Regions from separate parts of the Homo sapiens genome. Here region 2 is linked to region 1. Evidence: promoter capture Hi-C in 16 types of primary human blood cells and fetal thymus (Javierre and others, 2016). All regions are on one chromosome and are shown on one strand. The core of a region is centred on a gene start or on the middle of the fragment in contact, and the rest is flanking DNA. Distances in the headings are between cores, read along the strand shown.

Region 1 (3,217 bases), core at 394-2,893:
ACTTCTCTTCAGCTCTTATTAGCCCTATCTTATTAAATGGAGGCTCAGAGAGGCCCAAGGTTGTGTTATTAAATTGTAGGGTCTGTGTGAGGCTGAGGCAACTGCCCTCCCCAGAAGACACTGGGAGCTCCCTGCTAGGGACTAAATGTTTGTGTCCCCTCTGCAATTCATATGTTGAGACCCTAACCCCCAACGTGATGTTATCAGGCATTTGGCAGATAATTAGCTACAGGTGAGGTTATGAGCATAGGCCCCCATAATGGGATCTGTGCCCTTATAAGAAGTGACCAGGAAGCTTACTCTTTCTCTGTCTCCAACATGAAGGTGTCCTTCTGCAAACCAGGAAGAGGGCCCTCACCAGGAACTGATTGGCCAGCACTGTCATCTTGGACTTCCCAGCCTTCAGGACTGTGACGAATAAATTGCTATTGTAAGCCACCCAGTCTATGGTATCTTTGTTATAGCAGCTTGAGCCAAGATATACCCTCTAATGGTGCTGTAGGATGGGGTGAGGAAAGGCCCCCAGCTCTGGTTTTTGGGAAGCTGCATCTTTATTTTTATTATTTGTTTGAGACAGGGTCTCACTTTGTCACCCAGGCTGAAGTGCAGTGGAACGACCTTGGCTCACTGCAGTCTCAGGCTCCTGGGTTCAAGCAATCCCCTTGCCTCAGCCCCCTAAGTAGCTGGGACTACAGGCACGTGCCACCATGCCCTGCTAATTTTTGTATTTCTTTAAGAGATGGGGTTTTGCCATGTTACCCAGGCTGGTCTCGAACTCCTGAGCTCAAACCATCTGCCCATTTCAGCCTCCCAAACTGTTGGGATTACAGGCATGAGCCATCCTTCCAGGCCAGAATCTGCATCTCTAAAGAGCAGATTCTCCTGCCTCAGCCTCCTGCGTAGCTGGGACTACAGGTTCGTGCCACCATGCCCAGCTGATTTTTTGTATTTTTAGTAGAGAAGGGGTTTTACTGTGTTAGCCAGGATAGTCTTGATCTCCTGACCTCGTGATTCACCCTCCTTGGCCTCTTAAAGTGCTGGGATTACAAGTGTGAGCCATCGCGCCCGGCCGGTTTATTTTTTTAAAAATGGCTGGGCACAGTGACTTGTGGCTGTAGTTCTAGCTACTTGGGAGGCTGAGGCAGGAGGATTACTTAAGCCCAAGAGTTGGAGGCTGCAGTGAGCTATGATCGTGCCACCACACACTCCAGCCTGGGTGACAGATCAAGACCCTGTCTTAAAAAAAAAAAGTATGATTATTATCAGAGTCTCTAGGTGACAGTGAGAGGCAGCCTGGTGCAGGGGATAGGGCACAGTTGTAATCTGCTAGACTGGGTTCAAATCCTAAATCGGCCATTCAGAGCGTGAATACATTAGAACTGGCTTAAATTAGCATTTAAAATGTCAACAGGATTAAGTAAGTAGTTCCTTCTCACTTTTTCCACAGGAGGTGAGAAAGGTCTCAGCAAGGCCCTAGGAGGGAAGGGCGTGGGGATGAAAGGGATCCAGAGAGTCTGTGCATTGGCAGAGAAGATAGTGTAACTGGCACTGCGGCTGGAGGGCTGGTCCCACAGTGAGCTACAGCCCTGCCCGCTGGCCGTGGGAGAGGCTTAAAACAAACGCCGGAAGCAACTCCCAGCCCCATAAAGATCTGTGACCGGCAGCCCCAGACCTGCCTGCCTTCCTGACTTCTGTTCCAGAGCAAAGGTCATTCAGCCGCTTGAATCAGCCTTTTCCCCCCACCCGGTCCCCAACTTTGTTTACCCGATAAGGAAGGTCAGCATTCAAAGTCAAGAAGCGCCATTTATCTTCCCGTGCGCTCTACAAATAGTTCCGTGAGAAAGATGGCCGGGAACTCGATCCTGCTGGCTGCTGTCTCTATTCTCTCGGCCTGTCAGCAAAGTAAGAGGCATGGGAAGTTCGTGTGTGTGCGCGTGTGTGCGTGTGTGTGTGTGTGTGACAAGGCTTGCGGGAGAGAGAGGGAGGGAGGGAGATGGGTCCGGTGTTTTGTTTCCTACTTGCCCTTGCAGGTAGCTCTGGGTCCTCAGAGCACAGTCGCCTCAGGGTCACCCATGCCGCCTGCTACCCTCCTTCCCAGGGGCAAGCAGAGACTGAGAACATTCCAGAGATTAGTTCTCCCAACTGGAACGCTGTGGGGCCTCAGAGCTCAGCGATTCTGCATCATCTGTGATTACGACCCACAGCCCGTTCAAACGAGCGTTAGTAGCCTGCTAACCTGCAGGAAGTGGTGTGAATATTAATTACAAGTGTTCCAAAGGAAACGTGCCTGCTTCTAAACCTGGTTGTGATTTCTTGAACGTTGATGTTTTAATTAATGTGTTTTCTTAAATAAACTGCCTATGGTGGTATGATTATCAGATTGAAAAAAACTTCCTTCAGAAATATTAGCTTTAGATTAAGTAATTAGCTCTAAATTTTAAAACAGCTTCCCACTAGGATTATTCAATATCTCGACTGCCTGGTTAAATAGAGGGCTTTTACTCCATGGGAGTCACATTTGCTCAATTCATATTATCTTACCTACAATGTCAGCTGGGGAAAGGGGTCCGAGTGCAAGAGTGCAAGACTTCTTACCAAGCATGCATATTTCTTTATATTTCCAAGTATGCCTGTACCAGGAAATAGGGCCAAGCCGTAGACTGCTCAGGTTACACAAACAGCCAGAAGCAGGAAGGCCTCACAGCTGAGGATCCAGTCCAGGCCTCCGTGCATGCTCAATGTCTTGCCTAGCCAGTCTGTTTTGAGATTGTATGAAGATCTTGAACCTTCAGACTCACGTTTTGTGGTTTGATTCACACAATCTGTTGTGGAGAAGAGCAGGATATTTGTTTCTAATTAAAGAAGCACTTAGATCTGTTAAAAGGAAAACCCTAGACAAATTACATTTAACTGAGTTTAATTGAGCAAAGAACGATTCACAGTTGGGCATGGGGAACCGGAATAGGTTCAGAGAGACTCTGGGGCTGCCACGTGGTAGAAGAAGATTTATGGACAGAAAAAGGAAAGCGACTCCCAGAAAACGGAAGCATATAGTTCACGATGTACGGAGAAACCTTTAGGCTGAACTTAAAATATGTCAGAAGGCAGCTTTAGGCTAAACCTAATTTAGCAGGTCTAAGGCTCACTGTTGGTAGCATCCTGACTCACAGGTGCTACCAAACCTGCATGCGCCTTTATCCTAGGCCTGCAGGTCCAC
Region 2 (3,312 bases), core at 276-2,775, 1.0 Mb after region 1:
CATTTCCCCTGCAAGCCCATCTCTTAAAGTCACAAGCACCTGCTCCTGCATAAAGTGAGAACAGTTGGAATGGATTTTTCCTTCTCCTGGGTGGGGGGGTGGTCTGAGGAAGGAATGATTCAAATACTTTATTACTGCAATACCTTGCTCTACACCCTAATCAGGACCAACTACATAATCTGTGGGGCCCAGTGCAAAAAGAATATTCAGGACCCCTTGTTAAAAAATTCTTCAGAATTTCAAGGCAGCAGCAGTAGAATATTAAGCCAAGCCCAGCGCTTTTCTAAGTGTAGGTTCCTGTGTACAAGCATACCTAGGAAGCTGGCCTTGAAACCCCAGCAGTGTGTTGGCTCATTCTTTCCCCACGAACAAGCTTGCTGCTTTCAGACTTTGTGCAGGACTCAAATCTGCTCTGATACGGACCAGTGAGGACAATGTGATTGAAGTTATTAAAAAATTACGCCAAGCCTTGTGTGATCTAATTCCTCAAAGAAGCCCCTCAAAAGGCGGGGGCTTAATTTAATTTCCCCTCAAGTCCCGTAATAGGAAAGTGGATGCTATTGTCTTAGATTTACAGCTGCTTCTGTGTGCAACAGGAAGTTATATTGATTCTAATCTTGGCTGTAGAGGCGGGTCTGAAAACCTAAAACTCAAAGGTCAAGGTCAGCCAAGGTCAACCTTGAGAGGTAGGAAGGAGGGGCCTTTTTGGTGTGGTAGGAAGAGTTCATCGCTATGAAGCCCACCTCTGTTTCTAAGAGATTAGCTATATCAATCCCCTCCTGGATACCTGGGGGCAATACCCCTCAGATCCCTTCTCTCAGGAAGGCCACATTTGCAGAAGCCACTCACTGTCCTGAGATGTCAACCCTTCTTCTAATTCATGTATCCTCTTACGTAATTCAACTGCCAATAATTGAGAGCATCGATAAGCTGAAGAACAACTTGGCAACGAAATAATATGAAATAGAAATAATTCTGAATTCAAAATTACATTTAGGTAATGACCTACAATGTCTAAATAAATTATAGTACATTGATATAATATGTAGACATTTAAAATCATACCTTCAAGTAATTATTTCATGACATGGTGAAATGCACCTAGCATATGAAAAACAGCACAAAACTAATTACTATTCTGTATGATCCCAATTTGTCTAAAAAAGTATAATATAACCTATATTACAAATTACAATACATGTATTAATTTTAAAGAATACAAAACTAAATATGAATATTAACATTAGTAGGTGAGATGACAATTCTGCTATTTTATGGTCTTCTGTGTTTTCAAAAATATCTCAAATGTACATTCAATACATTTATGATGAGAAAACAAAAAATATATAATTACCTCCAACCTTTTATTTTGGGCTTTTTTTACTCAAAGAGAGCTCATGCCATCAAGCAAACAGACAGTTACCATGGTTATACTAACGCTGCTACTTCACAACAGATAACCACAGGTTAGAAATCTTGTTGCTAGGTTGCAACATGCTAGCTAAGAGTCCATATCTAAATGAGAGGCTCCCTCAAAAACACACTTCCTTGGAGAGGGACCTGGCGTTTACATTTTAGAAATTTTTTTTTGAAGTTCATTTTTTCCCTCTGGTATACGGAGTTCATCAATGCTACAAACTGGTACGTATTCATACACACTGAATCACATTCCTTACTCCAGTTGCAGGCACTTGATGTTTAATAACTAGTTTATCTCAAGTCAGGAAGTTTACAGTGTCAAAATGAATCAAATTGATTTTACCATTTTTATCAAGTATTCTCTGAATATGCTCTTTAAAAAAAAAGAATATATATATATGCCAGGTGCGGTGGCTCAGGCCTGTAATCCCAGCACTTTGGGAGGCCCAGGCGGGCAAATCACGAGGTCAAGAGTTCGAGACCAGCCTAGCCAACATGGTGAAAGCCCATCTCTACTAAAAATACAAAAAATTAGCTAGGCGTAGTGGCGGGCGCCTGTTGTCCCAGCTACTCAGGAGGCTGAGGCAGGAGAATTGCTTGAACCCGGGAGGCGGAGGTTGCAGTGAAGCCGAGATCACGCCATTGTACTCCAGCCCGGGCAAGAGAGTGAGACTCCATCTCAAAAAAATAGATAGATAGATAGATAGATAGATAGATAGATAGATAAATGGGATCCTGCTCTGTTGCCCATGCTGGAATGCAGTGGCATGATTGTTTCCGGAACAAACTGAGGGTCGGGCTGCTATTTCTCATGGCCTAATAACGAGATGCAAATGAACTGGGGAGGAAGAAAGTTTTTATTTCTGCAACCGGTTACAGGGAGAAGGCCTGGAAATTATCACCAGACCAACTCAAAATTACAGTTTTCCAGAGCTTATATACCTTCTAAGCTATATGTCTACATGTAAGTGTGCATTCATCTAAAGACATAGGTGATTAACTTCTTTTAATCTATAACTAAGGTCTGAGTCTTGAGGTTAATTTTTAAATTTTTTTATAGAAATGGGGGTCTCATTACGTTGCCCAGGCTGGTCTACAACTCCTGGGCTCAAGGGATCCTCCCACTTTGGCCTCCCAAAGCACTGGGATTACAGGTGTGAGCCGCCTCATGGGCCTTCCACTGAGTATTCATTAAATCTCTAAGTACCCATGGTGTTGCCTTCAGCTACATATAAGCAAGACAAAGAAAAAAGCCCAGGAGACCAGCCACTCTGTGCTTATATTAACAAAGGAAATGCCAGGAAAGATGCATATTAAACTTAATAATGGTTACCTCTTGGGAATGAGATTGATATGGCAGAAATCAGAAACATTTTTTATTATTTGAAATATATTTTTAGGCCAGGTACAGTGGACTGTAATCCCAGGACTTTGGGAGGCCAAGGTGGGAAGACCACTTGAGCCCAGGAGTCTGAGACAGCCTGGGCAATAATTAAGACTTTGTCTCTACAAAAAAAATATTAAAAATTAAGCAAGGTGTAGTGGTGCATGCCTGTAGTTCCAGCTACTTGGGAGACTGAGGCAGGAGGATCACTTGAGCCCAGGAGGTAGAGGGTGCAGTGAGTTAAGACCACACCCTGCACTTCAGCCTGGGAGACAGAGTGAGACCCTATCTCTGAAAAAGAATTAAAAAAAAAAAACTATATTTTTTAAAGTAATTTCTATACTATTGGAACTATACACTATAAAACATTGTACTTTTATAATTTGTACAATGTACATGTATTATAATCAAATAATGAACCACTAGGTTGGTGCAAAAGTAATTGCAGTTTTTAATACTATAGGATCAATGAAACATTAAAGATCCTACTATAAGAGTTTGTAAATGAT

Evidence for each region. Contacts are between HindIII fragments. The CHiCAGO score rates a contact against its expected background, and 5 or more counts as called.
Region 2: a contact is called between the fragment with the promoter of TBC1D9-AS1 here and the fragment with the promoter of MGST2 in region 1, in 9 of 17 cell types (monocytes, M1 macrophages, total B cells and 6 more). The highest score is 18.2, in monocytes.

The regions. Positions count from the first base shown.
Region 1 is chr4:139,664,176-139,667,392 of GRCh38, forward strand. MGST2 (microsomal glutathione S-transferase 2) reads left to right here and starts at 1,644. Exons shown (of 5, transcript NM_002413.5): 1 at 1,644-1,902. The coding sequence starts at 1,845. RefSeq lists enhancers at 1,203-2,402, 1,699-1,868. The HindIII fragment of the contact is 3,780 bases long and covers 294-3,217 here.
Region 2 is chr4:140,710,643-140,713,954 of GRCh38, forward strand. TBC1D9-AS1 (TBC1D9 antisense RNA 1) reads left to right here and starts at 1,526. Exons shown (of 2, transcript XR_007058283.1): 1 at 1,526-1,641. The region is part of intron 1 of TBC1D9 (TBC1 domain family member 9); the gene reads right to left. The HindIII fragment of the contact is 8,622 bases long and covers 372-3,312 here.